Linked DNA regions of Homo sapiens: region 2 is linked to region 1. The links are contacts of gene promoters, found by promoter capture Hi-C in human tissues and cell types (Jung and others, 2019). All regions are on one chromosome and are shown on one strand. Each heading gives the region's core, a stretch centred on a gene start or on the middle of the fragment in contact. The rest is flanking DNA. Distances are from core to core; before and after follow the strand shown. Region 1 holds the start of SLC35F1 (solute carrier family 35 member F1). Region 2 overlaps SLC35F1 (solute carrier family 35 member F1).

Evidence for each region. The method cuts DNA at HindIII sites, captures the fragments that hold promoters and counts their contacts. A contact is called where the count stands out against the background at its distance.
Region 2: a contact is called between a fragment that was not itself captured here and the fragment with the promoter of SLC35F1 in region 1, in 1 of the 25 tissues and cell types used here (bladder).

Annotation. Positions count from the first base shown.
Region 1 is chr6:117,903,859-117,910,211 of GRCh38, forward strand. It overlaps SLC35F1 (solute carrier family 35 member F1), which reads left to right and starts at 3,406. Exons shown (of 8, transcript NM_001029858.4): 1 at 3,406-4,041. The coding sequence starts at 3,869. It overlaps LOC124901480 (a long non-coding RNA gene), which reads right to left and starts at 3,072. Exons shown (of 2, transcript XR_007059904.1): 1 at 2,418-3,072; 2 at 1,801-1,959. The HindIII fragment of the contact is 14,555 bases long and covers 1-6,353 here.
Region 2 is chr6:117,942,046-117,947,634 of GRCh38, forward strand. The region is part of intron 1 of SLC35F1 (solute carrier family 35 member F1); the gene reads left to right. Among named protein-coding and RNA genes, the nearest start is that of SLC35F1, 38 kb to the left of the region's middle. The HindIII fragment of the contact is 4,517 bases long and covers 755-5,271 here.

The sequences.
Region 1 (6,353 bases), core at 2,156-4,655:
TTTTAAACTCATCAAAATGTAGTCTGACTCTGCAAAATTAGCCCTTATCCACAACTAACAGCACTAATCTCTAATCCTCCATCTCTCTTAGCAAAAAGGTCAATTATAAACCTACACAGTATTCTGGGTTTACTCCAAAGGAATAAGTTTCCAAAATGCAAAACAAAAAAATTACATAAACAGAAACATCGTGTAGAATGTGTGAACAGTCTTTGATATCTGTTGCCTAGTGTCTGTTTCCCTGCTCTGTGCATATTTTCATATCCACTAATACCATTTATAGACTATCTTCATTGATGATGATTGTTCACTGAAGTTCTGTGCTTTAACATGCCAATTATTGTATCCATTTCTTGGATGTAAATTGATTTACCCATTCTACTCCTCTGCCATTTCCCCTCTCCACAAATTTTTCACCAGTTTTGCCTGGCTTTCTCTCCCATTCAAGTTCTATTATGTGAATCAAAACCACAAAGCTCTATCATTCTGGAGGCCATAGATTCAGTACTACATGTTGAGAAGATTCAATCTGACTTAGGAGATAAAGAAAAAGATTAAAAGAATGATACGGGGAAAGCATATGGCCACTGGTCATTTGCAGCAGCACAAGCAATTCCAGATAGTTGTTCAGCAATTTGGGGAGGATCATCAGTTACCTCTGGTGCATGACTGTGAAGCTTTTTTCTCAATAACGTGCACAGGTGCAGTCTATGCTAAACAGATTAGTCAGTGCCTGGTGACTCTGACATAGGCCAAACTTCACTCTTCCCCACATCAGTGGACATGTCTTCAAAATGAGAAACACTAAAGAAGGTATAGCTGATAGCCAACTTCTGCTTCCTTAAGGAATTCAACAGAACTAGTCTGTGCCTGAAGAGAAATTCGGGTGATATAATGGTAAGAGAGGCAGAATTTTTTGTGGCATGGAAATTCTGCAATAGCATCATACCACTAACCACAGCTGACAAAGAGGAGGTAAACTGAGAAGTAGGCATGTCCCTGGAACCCACATGCCACCACTGAAAACTACATACAGATCCTTAGCCCATTGCCTTCATCTCCCTTCCTTTTGGTCAGAGCTCGTGAACTGATTTTGAGGTCAGGGATGGACAAAAGTCTTGCAGCAGGAAAAAGGGAAGCAGCCCTTTTCTACATCTTTTATGTTTAATTTCATGTCAGACACACCATTATGACACTTGGACATTTGACTCCTGTTTACTTACTTCACAAATGTTATCTAGCTACTTAAATATTTTTTTCTTTTAGAGATGGTGTCTTGCTATGTTGCCCAAGCTGGCCTCTACCTCCTGGGCTCAAGCCATCCTCCTGTCTTAGCATTAAGAGTAGCTGGGACTACAGGCACACACCAACACACTTGGCGGTTAGCTACTTTCTAAGAAATGAGCATGGAGTACAGAATCAGAGGATAAGAAGGGATCTGATGCTGTATTCCCCCAGAAATGGAGTAACAAAAGCATAAGGCTTGAGTCTGCATTGAGGTCTTACCAACAAGATCGAAATTTTACATCTCTCATCTTGTTGTTCTTTCATCTTGGTTTTCTCCCTTCCTGACTCAGAGGAGATGTAGAGCATTTGGATTTAGTAGTCCCTCTAGAGAAATGACCAGATGCAAATGCAGACATTGAAGTGCAGACACAGCACTGAGTCGTGATGTGCCAAAAACATTCAAAGGGAGGCAAGCCAAATGTGAAGGAAGAGGGCACTGAAGCAACCAGTTATTCAAGGCAGACACCTGAAATTACCATAAATGTTGTTTTAATAGAGAGACTTCTACCACGATTTGCTGCCAGGTTCAGCTGAAGTGCATTTTATTCATGTCTGCTACATTCGGTGGGTCCACTAAGGGTAAATTTATTGCCACTATTGGAATTTTAATGCCCAAGAGGCTACAAGCCTTGGTCCTGTTTGTAATAATTCTTCAGAGTGTCCTGTGCAAATCTGAGGTGGAAAAATCAGAGAATGAAAGGTTGTTGAGAAAGAACAGGACGACATTTTAATTATAAAAGGGAAAATGTTCCAATTGGGGTTAATTTCTGTAGAAAGAAACCTCAGGGATATTTCAGGTAGCAAGTAGGTTTTACAGAATTGAAATATAGATTGAAGAGATTTTGCAAATACCCGTTTTCTCATATTTTTGATGATTAAAAAAAGACTCCGAATTTTGTTAAAGGAATTGGACCTTGTTAACTGAACAAAGAATCCCATCTTATTTATATCCTTCCATATTCCTTTTCTCCTCTGTTGAAAGGACATAGTCCATTCCTTTTTTGAGTGTTATTTTCTCCCCAATTCCCTCTCTCAGTGGCAAATCCTATCACTGGTATTTTTAATTTGCTGGTTTCAGAGCATTTGGATTCAGTAGTGGTATCAGCATGCCTTTGTGTGAACAAACTTACCTGTTAAACTTACTCAATTCCCTGCACTGAAGCGAAGAGTTTTTTAAAATGCATATCATTTTTCAAGGCAAGATCCCTATCTAAACAGTCTAAATAAAGGAAAATTTGAAAAATATCTCTCTTTCAAGAATCGATTATTAATTGGGATCCGGATCAATTGGTATAAGAATGCCCGGGACAGAGAGTCAGTTTCCATTGGTAGAAATATGGTCCAAGATTTCTGTGGCAGATACACAGGACTTTCCCTTTTGGAGTTGGGGGACTATTAAAGGAGCTGTTAGGCTCCCCTGCTGCGTGGTTTACCTCATTTAAGTCTTACAACTCCCCTGGGAGAAAGACATGAGTAGTCTCGCTGCACAGAGAAGAATGTCTCAGAATTTAATTGCTTAGAGTCTCTGCGGATAAGTTTCAGATGTGCCACTGAAACTCAAATCTGCCTACGTTCCTTTCACAGCACTACATTGCCTCAAATGGAGACGTTTTGAGTTGGTCTGATATGCTTTTTCCAGTTCCCAGAATTGATTCTTTGTGAGAAGTAGTTTTTTCTCCCATTTCCACCAGGCCAATTATGGCGAATGTAGTAGGAGCAACATCTAGGATTCTCCGTTTGGGTTTCTAATCCGGGGCCGGCACCTGTCTCGGCGTCCTGCCGCTGTCCCAGGCCGGTGGTGCTGGATTCCGCGGCGCTTGGGCAGAAACGAGGAATCCCCGCCAACTCCACAGGGAGGATCTATTCCCAGCCCCCTTATCCCCCTAAAAAACACCCAAACCAAAACAATCACCACAACCTAGACCGTGGGCCTCTGCGGACGGGGCAGTAGAGGGTCGGGGGCAACAAGGCACCTCGGCAGCGCCCTCTGGCGAGAGGAGAGCGCGCAGGTCCCCCGCCCGCGCCCCGCTCTGCCGCCGCCGCCGCCGCCGCCGCCGCCGCCGCCGGCGCCCCCGCCCGGCTCTCCGGGTTCACCCTCGGTCTCTCACTCCGTGAGACACAGACGGTAGCTTTCCGACCGAGCGGGGCACAGGCTGAGGCGGCGCCAGCACAACTGCCGCCGCGCGCCCCGAGGAGACCCGGGCACGAGGAAACAAGGAGAAATCAGGACTCCTTCCCCGGAACCGACCGGCAGCTCCGCGCCCCCGCGCGACACCCTTCGCAGCCACTTCGCGGGGCGGGCCAGGACTTGGGGACGCGGCTCGGGAAGAGCCGGGGCGGGCGGCGGCGGCGGCGGCACGGGCGCGAGGGTGCGCGCACTGGGACTGGAGAGGAGTGAGTGGCGGGCTGGGCGGCGGCGGCCGTAGCCGCGGGTGCCTCCCCGCCTCACCGCTTCGCAGGCAGCACCGCCTCCCGGGCCGCGGCCGCCCGGCCGGGTCCTCTGCGCGTTCCCGGGCCCGGAACCGGCACACGATGCACCCGGCTGCGTTCTGATCGCCGCCGCGCCTCAGCCTCTGCCGCGATGATCCCCCCTGAGCAGCCGCAGCAGCAGCTGCAGCCGCCGTCGCCAGCCCCGCCGAACCATGTGGTGACCACCATCGAGAACCTGCCGGCCGAGGGCAGCGGCGGCGGCGGGAGCCTGTCCGCCTCCTCCCGGGCTGGCGTGCGCCAGAGGATCCGCAAAGTGCTGAACAGGTGAGCGGCGGCGCCGGGCGAGGGCGCGGGGGGCGGGGGCTGCGGGCGCCCGGCTCCGGGTCCCCTCCGTCCCTGGGGCGGCCCACGGGTCCTTTGGGACGGGGTTGCGGCCGGAGGAGACTGAGGAGATCGGGCGACGACGCGCTCCGCGGGCGCAGAGAGGCCGCGGCAGCTTTGTCCCGGCGCAGGGAGCCCTGGAGTGGTGGAGCTGCAGCTGGTCCGAGGCGGGAGTTCGGGGAGAGGCGGGGTTTTTCGTACCTAGCCACCCTGTATGTGTGTCCGCACTCACACCCTCCATACGCGTGCCGCCTCACTTCCCTTTCCCTCTCGCACCCCGGCTTTGCGATCGGGGGTCGGGGGGACGCGGGGACCCGGCCAGGGCTGAGGAGGGAGGCGCGGGGCTGCAGAGATGGCGTGGAAGTCCTGGGCCTCGTGCTGTCCTCCGCCCCGCCCCGCCCGGGGGCTTCGACCCCTTGCCGGGGGAATGGGGTCGCAGCGACAGCCTAGCAGGCGGAGGGAACCCACTTCTCCAGCCTGACGCTCCAGTCGCCTCTCGGACTCTTCCTGGCTGGGAGCAGCGAAGAGAGGGCTAGAGGCCTGGAACAGACCCAGCAAAGTGCAAAACATTGCGGGCAGGGTGTGAGCCGGCGGCGCCCAGTTATTCCGAAGCGCCCATGCCGGAGGGGGCGGGTGCCGATCGCCGGCGCCTCCAGTGCTGGAATCTGCGTAGTGGATTCAGGACGTTGACGTTTTAGGATGAGGACCTGGGTTGACGTGAAAATGGGGGTACCTCTGGCACCTCTGACTCAACTGTGATGTGAAAGGGACTTTTTCTACTTAAGTAACTTGAAATGGTTGACGAGCTGACACCTTAAAAAATTGTATAGGGAATGGGTTTTGTGTTCTTTTTTGTTTGGATGCGTGGGTGCCTTTCGATGCATCTGTAGGGGTAACTGTTCCAGTCGCTCTGTTCATACAGGTTTCTGTGTGGCATTGTGTTGGGTAGCAGAGATTCCCAACGAATTCACACGGAACTGTCTGGGGCTCAAAGCTCTGGTGGGAGTACAAACTATGTACAGAAATAGAATCTTGAGAAATATCCTTATTTTGGGAGTATAGTTTAATTTAGTTATATCAAATCCCGAACCATTCAAGAATCCCTGGTGGGGAATTAATGCGTGCGTTAGTTTATTTGCGGGTACTTCTGTAGCTTTCCATTTATTATCAAACAGAAAGAAATTCACTCTGACGGGAGACAGGAGTTGGTAATAGAACTAAGTCTTTGATTTGTAGCTGAGAATACCACCTTCCAAAAGATAAAGTAGAATAAAGCAAGAAGACGCTGGCTCAGTACATATTATGTGGGTTTTGTATTTTTTATGAATACCTGTGAGTTTTTTTTTCAATTGCAATTACCTTGTCATTGGCTGTTTAAATTTTTAATCACAATATATTTTAATTATTATTATTTCTCATCAAACTAGAAAATATTGATGTAATATTTTGCTCAGTTTCTTTTTGCTCAATTATAAGTTATTACTGATTCCATGTAGGTTATTTCTTGATATGTAATGAATCATAGAGCCCAGAAAAACAAGATCACTGAGGTAGGAGTGAGGGGTATGTTGTCATCATACCTTGGCCAGTAGCTAGACAAGTGGTTTGCAGCAGAGCCATTTATCTGCTTGGTCTTGGTTTCTTCATTGTAAATTATGTTTAATAATACAGTACTTGTTTTACTTCCCTACCATGATTTTGAGAATTAGATAATGCTGAAGAAAACACTTGGAAAAGTATAAAGATCTACATGAATTAATGTATTCAACTCATTTTTTTTCTAAGGTAAGCCTATGGGGTAAACATAGGCAAATGAAGTTGAAGTCATGCTACGTTATGGGTAGAACCTTGTGTTTCTAATGAAACGATCTGTGACATGAGTTGTACTAGTCCCAGTGTATAGAGGAGGAACTTATACTTATGTTGGGTTGACGGCATTTCATCGCAGGTATACAACCGTGAATGGAACCCTAGGTTTGTAGCCTTTAGACTTAAGCTAAAACAATTATTTATTTATTTGTCTTTCAAAGTTATTCAAAATTTTCAATATAATATTTTGTATTGAGTAACTGGCTTTTCCTTATCCTTAAAGGATAAGAAGAAACTCTTTGTTTCAAGAAAGAACATTTTTAGTAAGGAGACTGAAAAATCTGAGCAAGTTTTAAAATCTCAATGGCATAATTTATTTAGCATGCTGATGGGCTTGGCTTTTGTGCCATAATTATGTCAATGAGAGCCTTAATAGTGGCTATAGA
Region 2 (5,589 bases), core at 1,763-4,262, 38 kb after region 1:
GAAAGGTCAATGACATGTATTTTATCAAAATTATCATTTAATACTCTCAACAACACTTTGCAGTATCACATCTTTTTACAGACATTGGTACTTACCCAGCAGAACCTCAGTCACTTGTTTAAGATGATGCAGCTGGTGGTAGAGTGGGCTTGAATTCGAGTCTCACTGACACCAAGGCCCATGCTCTTGTTCTGGGATTCTGACCTAATTCTATTGTTGTTACAGAATATGAATTACATAGACACTGAGAGCTTAGATATTGTAAATATCCAGGAAAGGGGGAGAAGAGTTTTTTGAATATGTAGTCAAGAGATCAACATCACTTCGTTATAGAATGTTTTGACCCTGAGAATGTTCATGACTTTCTGTTCATAAATTTAAATTTTTAAAACTTAATTAACACTGGTTAGTCTAGTCTTTTCTAGAATTAACCTCCATTCTATACAGAACAGCTAAATTTCACTTTTTATGTCCATCTTAGTTTAATGGGATTAATTTCATTGGATGGCTTACATTTTGTATAGCTTTTAAAACAATAATTTAACATATTATTCAACTTTCTGGCATGAATTAAAATGTTAACGATTATAGCTTCTGTTATTGAAATTGCTGTTTCATGAAGTCCAGACTTCTTGGTCAAATATTGGCATGACTGAAATTTTACGAGGAAGATTTAATTCTTCTATCAGTGGTTAGCCACTGCCAATTTTGTGTTATTTCTACTAAATCTAGTTTTCTAAAATTGGTGTTGTAATTATCATTGTTGTTAGCAAAATCACATTTGACGTTTTAGCTATTATGAACTTTATTTTATCTTACTTATTGTTACAAGTAATGCATTTGTTTAGAAATGAATTAACAGCCTGTAGTTTTTATTTATTTCTTACCCAAGCCCTGAGACAATTATGATCAATTTCTCTTAGTTCACAGTTTATCCTTTGTCAATATACCATGCCAATCTCAATTCTTTCAGTTCTAACACAGTCAATAGTCAAGTGCCTCTGAGACAATTTTTTCCTGTCAAATGTACCGATCTTGTTATCGATCCATTTTGGATTGGGTCTTGCCGATCCTGTTAATGGATTTCTAAAATACAGAGGAGTGCTCTATTTCAAATTCCATTTGAACGTGACATGTGTATCTCTAACCGAATTGTTTGGTAGTTCATTACTGCTGATTGACCAGACCTGTGGAGGTAACCAAAACACATTTCCTGAATCAATTTAAGTGTTATTATAATTTTTCTAGTATATTAACTGCTAAGGTCTCCAATGAAGCCCTAGCTTATAAGTCGGAATTTAGGCAGGTGACACAATCATCTCCTTTGCATGAGCAAAATACGTGTTATCAGATGTGCTGTTAACATTTTCTGCTCCAACTTTCACTGAATTGAAAAAAACTAACAAATTTAATGTCAGGAGAAATTGAACAGTTGTTTTAATGCCTCTTGTTGAAGTGATGGACATTGATACCATTGTGAAATTTTGTGTAAAGTTCTTATGGCTTTAAGAATACATCAGTAGGAGGTCAGAAATAATTAAAATTATCTTTCAATGGAAATTTACTAAATCCTTGCTAAAAGAGTTGGCTCTATTTGAAATATTTTATGAAGGAGGTCTTTTCATGTGATTGTTGAAGTGAACATGAGGACTACTGGCCAGATCCAAACCAAATAAAAGTTTCCCATATTTGTAGGTCTGAAAATGTTCTTGAACCTCAGTTTAAAACCATTGATTTTGCTGGAGCTAGAAGAGATTCCTAAAGCTTTACATCACTTTTTATCATTACATCTGGCTTTAGTTGTTTTTCTTTTGCCTACTCTTATGTGCTCTGATAAACACATATATGAATTAAAGAGTGTTCAAACTTTGTAAGTATCAGTCATGGCAGCAGGAACTCTGGCAACAACACTTCCATGAGAATGTTTCTTCACCATCCATAGATCTGATCTTTTCATGGGGAATGTGAAGTCTAGCTTTGCAAGTGTGAAAAAAAGCACTAAAAATTGATGGTTTCATTGTCATTTATTTTTGAAAAGCAGAATAAGTGGCCATGATATGATAATTTTCTGTAATTATATTTGATACTCTTGTTGTCCTATATTTGTGGTTGCTATTCAAATATAAAACTTGAACAATTATGGAGAATTATTTCTATAATTGAACTTAGTCCTGTTCTTGTGTCTGTTTGCTATCAGTTTGCTTACTATATGCTATCTGTATACATCACTGGCAGTTCAAAAACCATTAGCAAAGAAAAGATAAACTGTCTGTGTGTAGGGAAGGGAAGAATCATCTCAGAGATCAACCTTGTGAGGTCAAAATATCCCACTTTGTTGCCAAACATAGTATAAATTTGGTTGTTAGGCTCAGAAATTCAGAGCCATGCTGCAATTGAAAAATGCTATGAATAGCTTAAAAGTTCAAAATATATTGAAAAAATACTGAGTATTGAAATGCTAGTTATTATTTTTGTTTTTATTTTCTCAGAAAAGCTTTCAAGTTTGTTTTTTGAGATCCCCCTCTCCCAAAACACACACATACACATACACACACACACACACACACACACACACACAGAATATATTCTAAATGCAAACACATGATACGTATTAGTTGATTTGTTTCAACTTACTTTACTACCATCCCTATGGATGCATCTGTTCTAGAGAGAGAATGCCTGCATATAAACAAGAGAAATTTAACTAAACTTTACAGGATTCCAGTTTTAAGGAGTAATTTGTAAGCAGTTTTTGAGATGTGATTCTTATTTCAGTATGAAGCCATTCTTCTTTTAGTTTCAGTTTTGTTGTCTAAATCTGAGTGCTTTTACTGTGTTCCCAAATGGTCTGGATCTGTCTTTGACAAGGTACAGCAGGCTTAGGGGGCAGAGGGCATTTGTTTAACAGGTATTAACTGAGTGCCTGCTCTGTGCCAAACACATTTTTGGGTTTGGGGGAAACAACAGTGAACAAAGTAGACAAAAATCTGCATTCATGGAGCTTGCATCCATTTGGGGGAAGACAGATGATAATAAGTTACATATATAAATATATATGGTATGGTAATGGCTGAGGAAGATCCCTCTTGGCAGGGCATTTGGAAAAGCTGTGGGGCTCCGAGGGCCAGTGCTGTCCCCATCCGTGGGTCATCTGGCAATTGCCCAGTCCTCCTCTAATGCTGCTCAGTCTCAGTTGAGTTGCACTACTGACTCTTCTTAAGTCACTTAGAGATGAAGTTGGCACTATTTGGAAAGATCTGTTGCAGCAAAGGGTATGTTTTTCCTTAAGTTATTTGTTTTCCACATATAGTCACAAATTTACTACTATTTATTCAGTACTTGCTACATGCATTGTATGGCTTAATCCCCATCCTGCAAGGTGGGCAGTAGTCACTATCCCATTTTACAGATGAGTAGATTGTTATTTAGGAAGAGTAACTCATATTATGGGTATATAATACTCCTCATAGCTTTTCTGAAAAAATAAAAGTTAAGTGCTCATGATGACTATTTTAGAGAGAGTTGCAAGAGTTTAAAATGATCACTGCTTAAAAGTTAGTAGCAGCATTCTTTTCCCGATTCTCTAGTTTTTAGACCTGCAAGTAAAGACATGCTTTCAGTATTGCAGGTTTAATGAGACTCTGCTGTCTTTTCCCCACTGATGCCATGCTTCCTGGAGTTGCCATGTGTCTTCACAGCAGGATTGAAGGGAAACCCTTTTCTTCTGCATAGTAACAAGCTTTTGCTTTCACTTTGTAGGACCATTTTTAATTTTGGAAAAAGTGTAAGTTGCTCAATATTATGGTCCCCCAGAGTGAACTTTTAGAGATGGGTCTCGGAAGATCTTAAGACCAAAACATCAAAAGAGAGAGACCAGGGTCCTAAGAGAATATGAGAGTTGTTAAAATCATGAGCATTTTCCGTAAGCTGCAGAGAGTTTTGAAAGTAATTGCAGTTTATGTTGTTGTCTTAGAACTGAAGAACAGAAACTCTCTTTCTTTGTGCTCCATTTTCCTGACCAGACCTTAGTGCAAGAATAAAAGGAAAATGAACTGGATTGTTTTCCCTGTGGCACTCATTTTCCTCCCTTCTCTTCACACCTAGCTTCCAAGTCCTGACCTGTTTCCAGATACTTTTTTTTTGGAAAAGGTTGAGGTTTGAGTAGGAGAAGAGTAGTCTAAATGGGTTTGCACCTACTCCCAAAAATATGGATTTAAAAATTATTATCTTAATAACAATGACATCCATATAAATAAACTGATTATGAAAGCAATCTGCAAATTGCCAATCAAATATAATTCTCACAACAATTCTAAGATAAAAAATAATGGCTGATTTTGTGCTTCTTAGTTCAAATAAGAGTCAGCTGAAGTTTTGAGAGATTGATGCATCTGCTCACAGAGGTCCTAAGGGCTGGAGCTTGGGTAAGAATTCAGATCCTATGACATTTAGTCCAGTGTTCTTCAGTTCACTATTACTTTCCAATTTTAAGCTGTCATAAGTTTGAGAGACCATCTAATATATCTCTCTTTGAGATGACAACCTACATGTAAACTCTTAAGTGGTTTGACCTAGAGGAAAGCCATTAGTGGCTAATTGAAAACTCTGTGCTTTTTTACATTACCAAAGAAGTGTGAACTTTGATACAGTACCAAAGAAGGGATGAATTTCTGTAGAAAAACATTGACCTTTTTGCACACTAAGATTATTTAGGCCACCCCACCTGATACTGAATTTTAACTATTGCAGACGTTTTTAGAAGTTATGGAACACTGTCATTTGTTTTTATTTTCAAAAAGCAGTCCATTTTCAACATGGAAAGCTGTTAATTTTACTGGTTCATGCATTCATTTAACAGGTGTTTACTGAGTGCCTGCTCTGTGCCAAGCACATTTTTAGGTTTTGAGAAAACAGTGAACAAAGTAGACAAAAATCTGTTTTCATGGAGCTTACATCCATTTGGGGGAAGATAGACAATAATAAGGTATGTATGTAAAATATATGGTATGGTAATGGCTAAGGAGAAGAATTTGAATTGGAAGGGTAATATAAAGTATGGAAAGGGTAATGAAATTTTAGATGAGATGGTCAGGGAAGTCCTTGTTGAGAAGGTGACTTTTGAGTAAAGACTGGAAGGACATGAGGGAACAAGCTAGTTAGATATCTGGGGAAGAGCTTCCCAGACAGAAGGAACCAGAAATGCAAATGCCTGAGCCCAGAGGTGTCTTGGATGTCCAGAAAATAGCAGGAGCCCAGGAAGGCTGGAAAGTACTGGGAGGACAGTGAGAAATGAGATTCTAGAGATGAAAGGAGGACTGGTAATTGGAGAAGGGCCCCGCAAACCATTGTAAAGACTTTGGGTTTTACTCCTAGCACAATGAGTCATTTGGGGGATTTTTTAGCAGAGAAGAAGTGTAATCTGATTTATAACAGCTCTCTGGCTGCTGTAAAGAAGAGACAGTCATAAGTGGGCAAGAACAGAATTAGAGAGATCACTTAGAATGTAACATCTAGATGCAAGAGAATGGCAACAGTGTCAATAATAAAAGGTGGTAGGATTCTGCATATTTTGAAGTTAGAGCCATCAGG